4 separate regions of the Homo sapiens genome follow, and all the other regions are linked to region 3. The links are contacts of gene promoters, found by promoter capture Hi-C in human tissues and cell types (Jung and others, 2019). All regions are on one chromosome and are shown on one strand. Each heading gives the region's core, a stretch centred on a gene start or on the middle of the fragment in contact. The rest is flanking DNA. Distances are from core to core; before and after follow the strand shown. Region 1 overlaps MTCL2 (microtubule crosslinking factor 2). Region 2 overlaps TLDC2 (TBC/LysM-associated domain containing 2). Region 3 holds the start of SLA2 (Src like adaptor 2). Region 4 overlaps DLGAP4 (DLG associated protein 4).

Region 1 (3,952 bases), core at 1,199-3,698, 160 kb before region 3:
TCAAACTTAGTTTTCCCAGTACCTTATTAAGATAAATTTCAGAGAGAAAAGAACAAGTTCCAATGGTAACAAAAGCCAGATTTGATATGTACTGTTTCATTTAATCATCATGACGACCCTCAGAGGTGGGGACAGTCATTCTGCCTGATTTGTATTTGGACAGCTTGGGTCCAACATCCCATCGTTCCCCTACCACTGTCATCCTTAGATCACAATTTCTATCCACTTCTTCCTCTCTCTCCCTCCTCATTATCTGTGTCCCCTGTCTGTACCACAGATCAAGGAGCTGCAGCTGGTGCTGGCTGAGGCCCACGACAGCCTCCGGGGCTTGCAAGAGCAGCTCTCCCAGGAGCGGCAGCTACGAAAGGAGGAGGCCGACAATTTCAACCAGAAAATGGTCCAGGTGCGTGGTGCCCAGCGCTTTCCAGGCAGCTATTCCTACAGCCTCTCTGAGCTGGAAGCAGAGGCCTTGAGGATCTATGGGCCCTCTGAAGTCAAGAAAGTCAGGGGAGGCTGGGTGTGGTGGCTCACGCCTGTAATCCCAGCACTTTGGGAGGCCAAGGCAGGCAGATCACTTGAGGCCAGGAGTTTGAGACCAGCCTGGCCAACATGGAAACCCCGCCTCTACTAAAAATACAAAAATTAGCCAGGCGTGCACTAGCACGCCTGTAATCCCAGCTACTCAGGAGGCTGAGGCAAGAGAACCGCTTGAACCCAGGAGGCGGAGGTTACAGTGAGCCGAGATCATCCCACTGTATTCTAGCCTGGGTGACAGAGTGATATCTAAAAAAAAAAAAAAAAAAAAAGAATGAAAGAATGTCAAGGGAAACCTGAGTCTTCAGCCCCTGTGCCCTGCTGGGATGTTATTGTCCTTGCCATTGTGCATTAGTTGTGTAACAGGGCTGTCATTGGCGGCCTGTGGGACCTGGGGCCAGTCCTGTTTTCTCTCAGGACCTCAGTTTCCCATTTATGAAATGGTGCCCTCATCAGGCCTGGCTTCTAATCAAGATAATAGTTCTGGAATAACATTTGTTAAGCCCTTACTGTATGGTGGGCCTGTCCAATGCACTTTCTACCCATTATGTCTTTTAATCCTTGTGCCCTCCCTTATCACCATTTTGCAGATGGGGAAACTGATGCCCAGAGAGCTGGAGTGCTCTGCCCAGGGTTGCACATCCAGAGTGTGGCAGGGCTGGGCCTCTAATCCAGGTCCCTCTGTTAGGCATGACACTGCATTGCTTCCTAGGGTGTTGCCTAGTCATCAGCTGTCCTCAACCCTGGCACGCCCTTTGCTCTCCATGCGTCACCCCTCCCTGCTATCATCGCTCACCCTCGCAGGTTCCTCATTGAACATGAGCATTCGTGTGAGACATTTGGTGCCCAGGAGGTGCTCAGTATATGATGTCATGGTTTTTTAGAGCCAGGGTCAAATCCCAGCTCCTTCAATGATGTGTCACTGTTTTTGCAGGAGCAGAGGGCAGTGCTCATCTGAATAGATTGCGCCACGTGTGGTGGGATCCCCGGCAGGGATCACTCACAGGCACCACCCAGACTTTCCTCCCTGCCCCTGTCCAGGGGCCCAGAAAGGGGTGGGGGAGAGGACAGGGCCCTGGGGTTGCTCAAGCTCTTGTCCCCCGGCAGCTGAAGGAGGACCAGCAGAGGGCGCTCCTGAGGCGGGAGTTTGAGCTGCAGAGTCTGAGCCTCCAGCGGAGGCTGGAGCAGAAATTCTGGAGCCAGGAGAAGAACATGCTGGTGCAGGAGTCCCAGCAATTCAAGCACAACTTCCTGCTGCTCTTCATGAAGCTCAGGTGGTTCCTCAAGCGCTGGCGGCAGGGCAAGGTTTTGCCCAGCGAAGGGGATGACTTCCTCGAGGTAAGATTGGGCCAGGGACTGGGACTGGGAGTGTGGGCTGGGGAGAGAGGGACAGGGAAGGGACGCCCAGCTGGTATTGACACAACTCCTAGGCTCACATACCTGCCATCAGCATGCAGGCTTCCTTCCTGCATTCGTTGCTTTTTTTTTTTTTTTTCCGAGATGGAGTCTCACTCCAGCCCAGGCTAGAGTGCAGTGGTGCAATCTCAGCCTGCTGCAATCTCCATCTCCCGGGTTCAAGCAATTCTCCTGCCTCAGCCTCCCGAGTAGCTGGGATTACAGGCACATGCCACCATGCCCAGCTAATTTTTGTATTTTAAGTAAAGACAGGGTTTCTTGGCCGGGTGCGGTGGCTCACACCTGTAATCCCAGCACTTTGGGAGGCCGAGGCGGGTGGATCACGAGGTCAGGAGATCGAGACCATCCTGGCTAACATGGTGAAACCCCGTCTCTACTAAAAATACAAAAAATTAGCCAGGTGTGGTGGCGGGTGCCTGTAGTCCCAGCTACTCGGGAGGCTGAGGCGGGAGAATGGCGTGAACCCAGGAGGCGGAGCTTGCAGTGAGCCTAGATTGTGCCACTGCACTCCAGAGTGGGAGAGAGAGCAAGACTCCTTCTCAAAAAAAAAAAAAAAAAAAAAAAAAAAAGACAGGGTTTCTCCATGTTGGCCAGGCTGATCTCTCAAACTCCTGACCTCAAGTAATCCACCTGCCTTGGCCTCCCAAAGTGCTGGGATTACAGGCATGAGCCACCATGCCTGGCCAAAAGATATGTTTACTTAACAAGAGGGAGTAGGCTGGCTTAAAAACATTGGTGATAGTACAGGTGGTATTAGGATGTGGCAGGAAACGTGGGGGCGGAGCTCTGGGAATGTAAGAAGCTTAGAAAGGACCCACCTGACCCATTCATGCCCCAGTCTATGCAGGACCCTTTGCTGCTCAAAGCCCTTGCGTCCTGTCATCAGCACAGCAGCACACATCAACACATCAGGGAAGAGAAGGGGACTTACAAGGATGTCAGACCTTGGTCACACTCATCTTAGTTGACATTGTTCACTTTGGCCGTGTCCTTTTGGGTTCAGGTACCTCGAGTCTAGCCCAGGCTTGGCCCTCCTCTAGTCCAGGCTGCTCTCTGTAGTCCCCTGTCCAGATCCAGTAGGGAGCATTGGCATGCCTCAAGTTGCCACTTACGCCATCAGGGGTACTCCAGAGGAGCCCAGATGCCCCAGGAGCCAGGCAAGACAGTTAGACCTGAGTGTGTAGCAAGACCCTGCATCACCCTATCTCAGTGGGGCTCATCATTCTCGCAGGCCACCAGCTCCTCCCCAGGGCCTCATGGGAGAGTCACTACCGCCATTCCATAGGCCCACACCCTGCTGCCCTGGCCCTGCAGTGCCTGACACAGGGCCGCCCCTGGGAGCATTCGCCTCGGTCCTCCTGTCCGAAGCTGTCTCTTCTGTGACGTTTGGAAACATAGGAGCCCTCTCACCTGTTTGGAAGTCTCACAGGCCTCTGGATGAAGCCCAGTTTAAGGGAATGACCTGCAGGCCACACAGTCTATATTTTAAGTCAGTTTGTCTCAGACGAACCCTCCACATTTGGTGAAAACCTTTCTAGCCATTTCCATATCCTAGAGTAAAAGAGAGAGAAACTTACTTTAGGGAAAAAAAATTAGGGCATAAACATAGAAAATTGGCTAGGTGCAGTGGCTCACACCTGTAATCTCAGCACTTTGGGAGGTTAAGGTGGGCAGATCACTTGAGATCAGGAGTTCGAGACCAGTCTGGTCAACGTGATGAAACCCTGTCTCTACTAAAAATACAAAAATTAGCTGGGAACGGTGGTGCACACTGGTAGTCCCAGCTACTCAGGAGCCTGAAGCAAGAGAATCTCTTGAACCTGCAAGGCAGAGGTTGCAGTGAGCTAAGAGCATGCCATTGCACTCTAGCCTGGATGACACAGTGAGACTCCATCTCAAAAAAAAAATAAAGAGACACAGAAAATTACATAACATATATAATTAAGAAATATATACATTTACCAAAATAAGCATAATTAATAAGATATAAACATAATCATGC
Region 2 (4,023 bases), core at 298-2,797, 240 kb before region 3:
ATTGTCTGGAAGGATATACATGAAAATGTTAAGAGTTGGGGGGGGTTGAATTTTAGGCAATTTTAATTTTTTTAACGTCTTCTGGTTTTTCTACAATAAACATGAATCAGTTGTAGAACCTCTAAAATGATAATGTTCATGAGGTTGGTTTTCCTCGTTCAGTAGCTGGCGAGGAACAGCATAGTGAAAAATCTTCCCTTTGCCAGGAGGCAGGCACTAGCGGGGAAGAGATGTGGATTTTTCTGAGTTTTCTAAGACCCTGTTAGCTTAGGGTCTCTGTGCTGCTTGAGTAAGGTGTAAGCGTCTTTTAATCCTTCAAAGTCACCTCTGCAAAAGAGCAGTGCCTGCCCCCACCTGTATCTTGGGTCCCCAGGCCACAAGGAGGCTGGCCAGCAGCCTCGGCCAACTCTAGGGCCCTTCACCATCTGTGTTTCAAACAGCACAGGCTGCTGTGTGTCAGGAAGGCCTGGGTGGCATCATGAGCAGGGCTGAGTACCTGTTGCCGCAGGGCTGTCAGCTGAGAAGCCAAGCCTCCAGCTCCTGGATGCAGAACTGCTCCTGCCGGGCCAGCACCTCGTTGTTGAAGGTCGGGCAAGGGGAGCTTCCCCCGCGGAACAAGTCTCCATCCAACCACAGCCCAAACCGGCCACTAGAGAGAAGAGGACAGTCTTGGTGCGGCTCACTCCTGTGTGCTGAAACCCCCAGGCTCTGCCACCAGCATCAGCTCTTGGCCATGCCAGGACGGCAGCCCAGTTTCACCTGTCTTATCGCCCCTTAAAGCAATTTATACTGAATTATTGGGGACTCAGCACATTGTTCCCCATGGGGTTAAGAGCTTTATTTATTTATTTGTTTATTTATTTATTTATTTATTTATTGAAACGGAGTCTTGCTTTGTCACCCAGGCTGGAGTGCAGTGGCACGACCCTGGCTCACCACAACCTCCACCTCCCGGGTTCAAGCAATTTTCCTACCTCAGCCTCCCTAGTAGCTGGTATTACAGGCCGCCCACCACTATGCCTGGCTAATTTTTGTATGTTTAGTAGAGATGGGGTTTTGCTATGTTGGCCAGGCTGGTCTTGAACTCCTGACCTCAAGCGATCTGCCTGCCTTGGCCTCCCAAAGTGCTGGGATTACAGGTGTGAGCCACTGCGCCTGGTCAAGATGGCAATTTTTTTTTTTTTTTTTTTTTTTTGATAGGAGTCTTGCTCTGTCGCCCAGCCTGGAGTGCAATGGCGCGATCTTGGCTCACTGCAAGCTCCACCTCCCGGGTTCACACCATTCTCCTGCCTCAGCCTCCCGAGTAGCTGGGACTACGGGTGCCCACCACCACGCCTGGCTGATTTTTTGTATTTTTAGTAGAGATGGGGTTTCACCATGTTAGCCAGGACGGTCTCGATCTCCTGACCTCGTGATCCGCCCACCTCGGCCTCCCAAAGTGCTGGGATTACAGGCACAAGCCACCACGCTCGGTCCAAGATAGCAATTCTTAATACAAAAATTAGCCGGACGTGGTGGTGGGCAACTGTTGTCCCAGCTACTCGAGACGCTGAGGCAGGAGAATCACTTGAACCCAGGAGTCGGAGGGTGTGGTGAGCTGAGATCACACCACTGCACTCCAGCCTGGGCGACAGAGCGAGACTCTGTCTCAAAAAAAACAAAATGGCAATTCTTTAACCAAAGCTAGTACATCTCAGGGTGCAAACTCTGAGAGCCCAAATGCTTCAGAGCGTCCATTCTAATCCCCTTATTTGACAGAAAACCTCGGCTGAAACCAGGAAGTGAATTCCTGCAGATCAGCAATGGCTGATGTGTTCTGTGCCAAGCTGCCCCTCAGTGGAGGCTTTTCAGGCAGTTGGGAGAGCAAAGAATTTGCCTGGTACTAATCAAGCAATGCTCTCATCCCCGCCCTCAGGATAAGACGCATGCCCCCTGAATGTGAAGGTCACACCAGGATGAGATCAACTTTTTTTTCCTACCTCTCTCTACCCCGTCCTCACCGAGGGAGGTTCCTGCAATGAGTTATGTCCCCTGCAATTCCTGGGCTGGTGGAAAAACGAGGCACACTCATCTCTTGACGCTAGTCTCATCCAACCATGTGGAATTCTTTTCCCAAAGTTGCATACATTCAGACTAAACTGTCACCAGCTGTAACACTTCAGTGGGGGCACTCATGCATCCTTTCTCCTTAATACTGGCTTAGCGTGAGGTTGAGGGGGTTGGCTGGGAGGCTGAGCAATGAGGGGAACGGCCTGAGAGTTCCCCACTAGCCTCGCCATTGCATCAAGGGCAGCCTAGCCCAGCAGTTCGGCAGAGGGAAAGGGACCAGAACACAGACCGCCCCAAGACTCGGGAAGACTGAGACACTCACCTGCCACTGCCCATCATCAGTGAATCCAAGTCTCCCTTCACAAAGAAAGAGTTGCTTCCAGTCCACTTAAAGACCTGGGTGATACATAGGGAAAGGCTCAGGTTACTAAGCGAGCGAGTCCCGCCCTTGCAGTTTGACCCCGAACCACTGGATGGCAGTGTTGTGGCGGGAACAGCATCCAGGCCCCAACCGAGCCGCAGGTGGGACTCCGGGCTCAGGGATCTTGGGGTTTATCTTCTCAGTCTCCTTGGAGTCACCACCGCATGCCCTCTAGTTTGAATTCCTACAGCCTAGAAGCCTCTTTGTTCTAGAATAGGACAACGACCCCTGAGGCTTCCTGCTTCCAAAGCTGGAGGGAGGAGGGGAGCAGTCCAGGCCAGGAGTGGGAACTGATACTGCCCTTCTAACTAACTCTCACCCGGACAACACCAGCCCGCCTGCTCTTCAGTGCTGCCTCACATCCAGCTCATCAACAAGCCTCGCAGCTCTAGACACAGCGGGCCTGCCGCCATTTCTATCCCGTCCTCTGCCTGGATCACAGCCTCCCAGCTGGTCCCTCTGCATCCACTGTCTGTACCTACAGCCATACCCACACTGCAATCTGCGTGATCTGTTCTACGTCCAAATCAGATGTTATCTCTCCTCTGCCTAAGTCCTCCAATGGCTTCCCATTGCAATGGGGATAAAATTCAACTCCTTAACAATGGCCAGAAGTGCAGCCTGGGACTGGCGCAGTGGCTCATGCCTGTAATCCCAGCAATTTTTTAACTAGCTAGGTGTGATGGTGTGCACTTGTAATCCCAGCTACTCAGTAGGCTGAGGCGGGAGGATCACTTGAGGCCAGGAGTTTCCTCGAGGTCAGGAGTTCTAGACCAACCAAGGCAACATAGTAAGACCCTCCCCTATCTCTAAAAAAAATTTTTTTTCTCTCTCTTTTGAGACAGAGTCTCGCTCTTTTGCCAGGCTGGAGTGCAGTGGCGCAATCTTGGCTCACTGCAACCTCCGCCTCCTGAGTTCAAACGATTCCCCTGCCTCAGCCTCCTGAGTGGCTGGGACTACAGGCACGCACCACCACGCCCGGCTAACTTTTTGTATTTTAGTAGAAACAGGTTTCACCATGTTGCCCAGGCTGGTCTCAATCTATTGACCTCGTGATCCGCCTGCCTTGGCCTCCCAAAGAGCTGGGATTACAGGCTCGAGCCACTGCGCCCGGCCCTAAAACAAATTTTTAAACCTAGCTGGTCACAGTGGTGTGCACCTATAGTCCCAGCTACTGGGGAGGCTAAGGTGGAAGGATCACTTGAGCCCAGGAGTGGAGGCTGCAGTGAGCTATGATCGCACCACTGCACTCTAGCGTGGATAACAGCGCAAGACCCCAACTCTAAAAAACAACAAAAAAACTGTCAAAACTTAAAAAGTGCAGCCAGCTCTAACCCCTGATTTTCTCTCTGGCCCCTTCTCCCCCTTATTGACTACACATTAGCCACACCAGTCTTTCCATCCCTGGAACACCCAAAGCCCATTCCTGACCTAGAATCCCTCTGCCCAGAATGCTCTTCCCCTAGATCCTCAGAGGGCCCACCTCTCATCCTTCAGCCCAAATATCATCTCAGAAATTTCCTGGACCACCCTATCTGAAGTAGCCCTTCCTC
Region 3 (4,501 bases), core at 212-2,711:
CGGGCATTACAGTTGTATGGCAGCAGGAGTGGGAAGGTGGGCTCAAGCTCAAGTCCCTCCCTGCCAAGGCCCACATCCCTGAGTGGCTGTCACCCATTCTAACGTCCTGATTAGAACTCTCTTGCAGAAGTGTGCCTCCACTCTGGCTCCTTCAGCTCTGTGTGCCAAGTGCCTACAAGGATAAAAATCAAACCAGCCTTCCCTAGGATCAAAGGAGAACCTGAGCAGGAGTGCTGTAGCTGGCAAGGCCCCAGAAAGGGCTGCATGGGCTGAGCTGGAGTCAGGAATCATTTCAGTGCAGTGGGCCCTTTGTCTCCAAGAGTACTAATCCCCCTAATGGGGAAGCAGCGAGAGGGTGTGGTTAAATCTTAATGAAGAGTGGGACTGAAGGTAACACACTGATCAAAGACAATTCAGCCAGAGTCAGATTCTTTATCCTAGACCAGTGATTCTCAAGCTTGGGCATGGACTGTGGCTCATGCTTGTAATCCCAACACTTAGGGAGGTGGAAGTGGGAGGAACAATTGAGGCCAGGAGTTTGAGATTAGATGGAGCAGCACAGTGAAACCTCATCTGTACAAAAAAAATTTAAAATTAGCCAGGAGTGCTGGTGCACACCTGTAGTCCTAGCTACTCAAGGCTGAGAAGGGAGGATTACTTGAGCCTGGGTCAAGGCTGCACTAAGCTATGATTGTGCCACTGCACTCTATCCTGGGTGACAAAGCAAGACCCTGTAAAAAAAAAAAAAAAAAAAAAAAAAAAAAAATCAAGCCTGGGCATGCATCGGAATCACCTGGAGGCATGAAAACAGATTGCTGGGCCTACCTCCAGAGTATGATTCCATAGATCTGGGATGCGGCCTGAGAATTTGCATGTCTAACAAATTCCCGCTGAGGCTGCTGGTCTAGGGACCATACTTGGAGACCACTGTCCAGATACTGCTGCTATTCAAAGTGTGGTCCCCAGACTGGCAACATGGGGGTCACCTGGGAGCGTATTAGAAATGCAAAATACTGAACTCTGCCCCAGACCTTCTGAATCAGAGCCTGCAGTGCAACAAGATCCCCAGGTGATTCCTATACACATTAAAGGCTGAGAAGGCAGTGCTTCCCACACTCGTCAGTCAAGGGAATCTCCTGCAGGGTTTAAAATTTAGATTCCTGGGCTCCCTATCTGGAGACTTGGATTTAGAAAGTTTGGGAGATCCCAGAAATTGCTACAATTAAGTCCCGCTGAGTGATTATTATGGTCAGGCCAGCATGGGAACTCCGGCTCATTTTCCTCAGTCCTGTGTTCCTTGGACAAGACTAAGCCACAAAGCCAGAGAAAAACCTTTTGCTCCACGATCATGACAAGGCAGCAGCTGCTCCCCTAGAAACAGGAACTTGGGGAAGGTGGCTCCTCGACGGTCTGTGATGCCGTCAGAGGAAACGGGTGGTTGTGAGAACCACAGAGTCTGCAGTCGGAGCTAGAGCTCCAAGGACCCCACGCCTGTGTCTCTGTGACAGAGCTCAAAGGGCCCTGGGCCTTCCCTCCCTGGCTCGGCTGTGCTTGGGAGGGTTCCCCAGTCCAGAATCCCTAAGGAGCATGGGGCAGCTGATCCATCCCTGGTGTACAAACTGCTGACTGCAGACAGATGCTGAGCTACCCAAACCAACACCTAGCCTCTCCCTGAAGATCCTCCCAGGCTGAGAGAGTTCTGGGTGTCCTAGGACCAAGGACACTGGCAGACTTCCAGAAGGGCCCCCAAAGCCCTAACCTGTCCAGCCAGAGCATGCGTCTCAGCAGAGCTGTCTTCCCAAGCCTTTGATGACAAACCAGTAAGTATGCTTGCTTTTGTTCTTGGATGGCCTGGAGACAGGTGAGGAAGAATGGTCTCCCCTGCCCCGACTGGGACTGGGCTTTATTTGCTGTTGGGAAAAAAACAAGCTCAAGGAGAAGGGGGAGTGGTTCTACTGAGGCTGTAAAGAGGGGTGGTTTCTGGGGGTCCCAGAAGAACCAAGACTCACCTGCTCCACCTTTGACCTCCTCTTGGAGCTTACGCTCTTCCGTGCAGCTTGTCTTCACGCCCGTCCTAGTCCCATCTCAGGTGCGCACTTGCTGTGTGACTTTGGGCCCCTCTCTGCGCTGCAGTCAGACTCCAAAGTCAGGAACGTGAGGGCTACCATCTCTCAAGACATTTCAGCTGTAGAGCCTACAGTGCACTCTCACTCTCAAAGGGGTGATATTTCTCAATTGGAAGAGAGGGAGAGGTCTCCCTTTAACTCAATCCAAATTCATTTTTTTTTTTGAGTTGGGGTCTCATTCTGTTACCCAGGCTGGAGTGCAGCGGCGTAATTATGACTAACTATAGACTTGAACCACTGGGCTCAAGTGATCCTCCTGCCTTAGCCTCCCAAGTAGCTGAGACTACAGGCATGTACCACCATGCCCAGCTAATTCGTTATATTTTTGTAGAGATGGCAGGCGGTGGTGGGGGTGGGGGTGGGGGTTCTCACTATGTTGCCCAGGCTGGTCTCGAACTCCTGGCCTCAAGCAATCCTCCTGTCTCAGCCTCCTAAATTGCTGGGATTACAGGCATGAGCCACTGTGCCTGGCCAAATTCATCACTCTTACCCCCACTGCTGAAAAATGATCTTCAGAAGCACAAAATACACATGATGGCAGGCCCAGTCCTGCACGAATGGGCTACATGAACAGAATCACATGGTTGTCCTCTCAGGGACTTGGTCACTGTATCTGAAATGGGACCCAAGTGAGATACTGAAAAAAAAAAAAAAAAAAAAAACACAATATTCTGGGCAGCGTGCTCATCTCGGCTGCCGTTGACTAACTTTTTCCTTTCACCCGATGCCTCATGTCCTCCGGAAAGTGCCTGGCACATAGTAAGTTTTTCAAAAATTTGTAGAGTTAATGATTTGATGCTGTCTTACAAAATGTGCGGCTAATACTCTGCCTCCTCCTAGGCTGGCCCATTGTATGGTCTTTATTTTGCCCCCAGGGGCTTATTGGCCTTGACCTGACCAAGTCCTTGACCAGGTGAAGGGAGCTGCAGAGACTTTGGGGAGGCTTTCAGCCTGAGTACAGCTCCCCTGTCTCCATCTGCCTTTGGGCCCAGCCCCCAGCTCCACCTGCGGCAGGAAGGAGTCTCTCAGTTTATTGCAGGTGGTAACTGTGGTCTTCCTGAAGGAGGGGAAAGGAAACTAAGCCTTACTGAGCACCCACTCTGTGCCAGACTCCTGCAACTCTCCCCACAGCCCCGTGGCGCCTGTAGTGCACCTTGTTCACAGATGAGACGGGGGAAGCTTGCATGCTTTGCCTGAGGCCACACAGCTCCAGCCAGGTTCAAGTGGGCACTCATGCTACCCAAGCCAGAGGTTCTCTCCCTGGGGTTTCCTGGTCTTGGGTTTGTAAAAATCCTCCCCAGGAGGATCGCTTAAGCCCAGGAGTTCAAGACCAGCCTGGGCAACACAGCAAGACCCCAATAATGTAAAACAAAAACAAAAAACCTCCTCAAGAACAGCAGCACCATTTCAGTGTACCCAGGCTGCAGGATCCTAAAAGGCTGAGCAGGAAGTGGCTGTCAGGACCCATTTCCATGCCATATGCCCATTCTGTGTTCAAGAGCTCCCTTCCAGATGAATGCCGAACTCCCCATACGGAGGGAGCAGCAAGCAGGTATTAGGTTTTTTGGGGCGGGAGGGGGGTACAGAGTCTCGCTCTGTCGCCCAGGCTGCAGTGCAGTGGCACAATCTCGGCTCACTGCAGCCCCTGCCTCCCAGGTTCAAGTGATTCTTTTGCCTCGGTCTCCCGAGTAGCTGGGATTACAGGTACCCACCACCACACCCGGCTCATTTTTGTATTTTTAGTAAAGACAGGGTTTCACCATGTTGGCCAGGCTGGTCTCAAACTCCTGACCTCATGTGATCTGCCCACCTCGGCCTCCCAAAGTGCTGGGATTACAGGCATGAGCCACCGCGCCCGGCCCAGGTATTGTTATTCCCATGTCAACAACATGAGACTGAAGAACAGAGAGGGCTGTTCCATGCTCTAAGGTAGGATCTTTACTCCCCAGACAGGACTGGTCCAGGACGCCACAGAAATCACTCCATGATATTGATGGACGCCCGTCCTCATCCAGGCAGTGTGGGGTTCAAAGGCAAGGAATGAGCCCACTCTGTCACCACCCCATTCAGTGATCTCCTCCAGAGTAAGGTGCATGGGTTCCCCTCCAGGGACCACCAGTCCTTGGCAGGTGCCTGACACAGAGCAGAAGCTCCATGAATATCAGCTGAACTGGGCCAATTGTGTAACTGTGCCTTGTCCCTACTGAAAAGAATGAAACCATCTGAAAAGAAAGACAAAGCTCCGCCTCCCACTCCCCAAACACTTTAAAATAGTGTTTGGAAAAATCAGCACTACCCTGGAAATCCGGGGATTTAAACTATTCTAACGATAAGACACCTACCTGTCTGAAGAGCTAACAGTCTCATTTAGTTAA
Region 4 (4,142 bases), core at 4-2,503, 160 kb after region 3:
CCCGGGAGACAGAGGTTGTAGTGAACCAAGATCATGCCACTGCACTCCAGCCTGGACAACAGAGTTAGACCCTGTCTCAAAAAAACAAAAACAAAAACAAAAAAACAACCCACGAGAAGCAGGTGCTAGTAAGCAGGAGAAACCGCCCAGTTACAAAGCTGCCTCGGCTCCAGCCCAGTGCAAAAACTTGACATGTGCAGCCCGCTTGGTCTGGTGAAGGACTGAGGGTAGAGAATGCAAAATGTGGCTTTTCAAATACTGGCTGTATCATACGAGCTTTGCTGCTACCTTTCCAAAGCCCTAAGATCCCAGAGCCCAGCCTGGGAAGTATTACTTGGAAAGAGCCTCAAAAAAACTACCCTCACTTCTGGAGGGCTGATGTCAATGGAGGGCTGACTTCAAACCCTGGCGATAGGTCACAAAAGCCCGGCTTTCACCAACTGTCATAGGCTGTGTGTCCAGTGTGCAAAGCCAGACGCTGCCAGGCCCTGTGCACCTCGATTGCTGGCCTCTTTCACCATTCTGAATGACCAAGCGAATCCCAGAATAGAAAGGCAGTGTTAACAAGCTCATTCACTGGGCCTGGAGTGGCAGGTGGCATATCAGGTGACAGGAGTAGGAGCCAAGATCCCTCGGCAGCCTAGAGTTGGGATGAGACGAATAGTGCAGGACTGAATGGGGAAAACCGTGAGTTCACTTCAGGTCAGCAGAGGTAATGCTGCCTGTCTCTGTGCCAGGCACACCCGGGGGACAGAGACACAGAAAAACAGAGGGATTTTTTTTCCCTCAGAGCTTATATTAAGACCCTGAGTTTGGGAACCCAAGTAAGACAATTACACAAGAAAAGCGGCATATGTGGAAAAATGGCTTAGTGACGTCAGCTGACCACAGACACTGAGGATGCACTGTTACAGGAAAGTCACAGGACCAGAGAGGGCGCAGTCCCCACTGAACTCTGGATAATACTGAGGGTATCATAGGTAATTCCAGGCAAGGGATATCGTCAAACTGGAACCTGAAGACAGAAGGTGATCCACACAGGGAGAAGTCTCAACTCCACCCCATTCCAGCAAATGCTTATTTACAGAGGGAAAGCCATGCACAGTGCCAGCCACTAGGGACCCAGAATGAGTAGTCCTTGTCCTCAAGAAACCCATAGAAATGTGGAGATGACAATGAAAAGCCTCCTCCACTGACTGGGCACTGTGGCAGCCATATGGAGTTGCATGAGAAAGCCCAGGACTGATTCAACAAGTGATTAGTGTGTCTGGGACGGACTTGTCACAAACGGGGCGTGTGACACATATGCACCAAAAGTTGTGCTTAGCGTAAAGTGAGGGATGGCTTGGAGAGGCTAGGATGGTCACCCTGGAGAAGAGAGACAATTTAAAAGGGCATGGCTACTGTCCTCAAATACCTAAAAGACTGTCAAATACACATGTAGCCCCAGAGGGTCACACTACAATCAGAGGGGAAAAGGAAGGTGGGGATTGTTAATGGAAGTAAATTTTGACTAATTATAAAGAGGAGCTTTCTAAGAAGCAGAGCTGGCCAAAGATGGAAGAAGGACCTAGAAAATGGCCAGCCAGGCTAGACACAGGCAGGATGGATGCCAGGGAGGAAACTGAAGTCCCCATGGGTGTGACTTTTAAGATTCCTACCGGGCCTGAGACGCTCTTTGCCCTTCTACTTTACATCCAGTTCTGGACGTGATACCACACATCATCTTTGTGTGCATGACATTCATAGTTCAACATTTTTTTTTTGAGACAGTCTCACTGTCATCCAGGCTGGAGTGCAGTGGTATGATCACAGCTCACTGCAGCCTTGATAGCCCGGGCTCAAGCAATCCTCTCACCTCAGCCTCCCAAGTAACTGGAACCACAGGGGTGCACCACCATGCCTGGCTAATTTTTTTAGTTTTTGTAGAGATGAGGTCTCACTATGTTGCCCATGCTGTACTAGAACTCCTGGGCTTAAGCAATTTTTCCACCTAGGCCTCCTGAAGTGCTGGGATTACAGGCGTTGAGTTACCGTGCCCAGCCAACTTTTTGTTTAGAGACAGGGTTTCACTCTGTCACCTAGGCTGGAGTACAGGGTGTGATCATAGTTCACTGTAGCTTCAACTTCCTGGGCTCAAGTGATCCTCCCACGTCAGCCTCCCGAGTAGCTAGGACTACAGACATGTACCACTGCTCCTGACTAATTTTTTTAATTTTAATTTTTTGTAGAGACAGGGTCTCACTATGTTGCCCAGACTGATCTCAAACTCCTGGGCTCAAGCCATCATCTCACCCTGGTCTTCCAAGTGCTGGGATTACAGGCGTGAGCCACTGGTCTTTTTTACCCCCCTACCTCCGGAGAATTGTTATCAACAAACAGCGAAATACAAAATGAGAATGTTCACACAGCCTAGCCACACGGGAAATCTTGTGAGGACTAACACCAGGGCTTCAGACAGCAAAGTCTGGAAGTAAAACACCTTCGTCTGGGAAGTCTAGCTGCATAAGAGCTCCCATCTGAGATGATAAATCCATCCTCAGAATAGGAGATCAGCTGATACTTGCTACCCTGCCCCCTTCAAAATACCTGCTATGACAGAAACTGCCAGTAGGTTAGGAATCCCTGGAATCAGCCTTCATTCAGTGTATGACTTAAGCTCCTGGGTCTGAATTTCTCCCATCTATAAAATGAGAATAATGCGGCTTGCCCTGTCTATTGCCCTAGGACTGCTGTGAGTTTCCCAAGACAGGTGGGAAAGGGCTTGGCAGGTGAGGAACTGTCATTACAATTGCCTGAGGAGCCTAAACATCTCCTGAGCAAAGGGCCCACGGAGCTGCTGCCCAATCCCAGGCCCTCCATGGACTCTGCATGCCAGAAGCTGAGGATTTCTGGCCTGGGGCAGAAATGAGGGGTCTCATCCTGTCCAAGGACTAAGTTCGGGAAGATTCATTGCCCTGCCCAGCACCCCCAACCATCCAGCCCCTCGACACCGCACTGTAGCAGCACCATTCTAACATTTTAGTGTAGGGACCACTGGCCTCTCTGCCTTGTCAATCACCCCTCTAACTCTCCATCACCCCCTTCATGCCAACACACCATGCTCAGCTTCCAGGCCTCTGTGCTGCCTGAACACCCTCTTCCTCACTGATTCTGCCTCCTCCTTTAGGTATCAGTTCCAGCATCACTCCTGCCAAAAAGCCTTCCCTAACAGTCTTCCCAGGCCCCTGCCCTGGCTCACTCACTGAACAACATCCCACATTCAGGCACACCACAGGCCCTTGCCCACCACACTATTTTTACAAACCTCTTTACTTTTCTGCTTCCTCCTTTAGACCCTGAGCCTCCTGAAGGCAGGGTGGCATCCCTGTGACCTCCAATCCTGGCTCAAAAGAGGTACCCAGGTGAATGCCTGTTGACACTTAGGAGGCAGAACCCCACCCTCTCATTTCACCCTAAAAATGACACAGGCTGGCAGAGCCCTCATCCTAGAAGACTTTGAAGACTCTAAGTAGAGAAGAGTAAGAGACAACTTGGCAAGCAGATGACAGTGATGCTGGAACAAGTCTTGACTATATGTCCCCTCATGCCCACAGAGCCCGCCCCACTCAACGTTCCTCTCAACTACCTCTGAAAGCACAACATGGTAACATCTGGGAAGATGTCTTTGAAAGAACATCTACCAATCAGAAGGTCACCAACCACCCCATCCTGTCCATAGAACTCTGCCCCAACAATGGCACAGGGTCAGCCACACTGAGGAGTGGCTGAACATTAGTGGCTAATAATCACAGTTGCCAGATGTTTTTCACCTGCTCAGGAATTGGTGGTTATTGCAGTAGCCCAATCACCATCTGAGGTCCTAACCTCTGCATCTTACATTTGATCCCCTCAAGGAGATGTTTTCATCATCACCCCTGTGCTACTAAGGAAAAAGGAGGCTCAGAGAGGTTGAAGGCTCTGTTCGGGATCACACAGTGAGTCATGTTCTATCTGCTAAGTGAGTACAAACCCTACAGGTTTCAACTTCCAGAATGCAACCTTCACAGGATCCAGCCTCACAAGTAGTAAAAATACAAGCTTGCTTCGGCAAGACTGACACATACATTCCTACAAAGCTTAGAAGCTGCTGTAGATAGCCA

Evidence for each region. Contacts are between HindIII fragments. The study calls those that stand out against the background at their distance.
Region 1: a contact is called between a fragment that was not itself captured here and the fragment with the promoter of SLA2 in region 3, in 1 of the 25 tissues and cell types used here (spleen).
Region 2: a contact is called between a fragment that was not itself captured here and the fragment with the promoter of SLA2 in region 3, in 3 of the 25 tissues and cell types used here (IMR-90 fibroblasts, lymphoblastoid cells and spleen).
Region 4: a contact is called between a fragment that was not itself captured here and the fragment with the promoter of SLA2 in region 3, in 1 of the 25 tissues and cell types used here (spleen).

Annotation. Positions count from the first base shown.
Region 1 is chr20:36,806,433-36,810,384 of GRCh38, reverse strand. It overlaps MTCL2 (microtubule crosslinking factor 2), which reads left to right. Exons shown (of 15, transcript NM_080627.4): 7 at 278-403; 8 at 1,642-1,872. Among named protein-coding and RNA genes, the nearest start is that of DSN1, 35 kb to the right of the region's middle. The HindIII fragment of the contact is 7,987 bases long and covers 1-3,952 here.
Region 2 is chr20:36,885,877-36,889,899 of GRCh38, reverse strand. It overlaps TLDC2 (TBC/LysM-associated domain containing 2), which reads right to left. Exons shown (of 7, transcript NM_080628.3): 5 at 2,372-2,445; 6 at 497-649. The coding sequence ends at 514. It also overlaps a transcript of SAMHD1 not described here. Among named protein-coding and RNA genes, the nearest start is that of TLDC2, 12 kb to the right of the region's middle. RefSeq lists an enhancer at 1,990-2,712. The HindIII fragment of the contact is 8,903 bases long and covers 1-4,023 here.
Region 3 is chr20:36,643,156-36,647,656 of GRCh38, reverse strand. It overlaps SLA2 (Src like adaptor 2), which reads left to right and starts at 1,461. Exons shown (of 8, transcript NM_032214.4): 1 at 1,461-1,820. RefSeq lists an enhancer at 4,158-4,501. The HindIII fragment of the contact is 4,817 bases long and covers 19-4,501 here.
Region 4 is chr20:36,478,626-36,482,767 of GRCh38, reverse strand. All of the region lies in intron 7 of DLGAP4 (DLG associated protein 4), which reads right to left. Among named protein-coding and RNA genes, the nearest start is that of MYL9, 61 kb to the left of the region's middle. The HindIII fragment of the contact is 6,952 bases long and covers 1-4,142 here.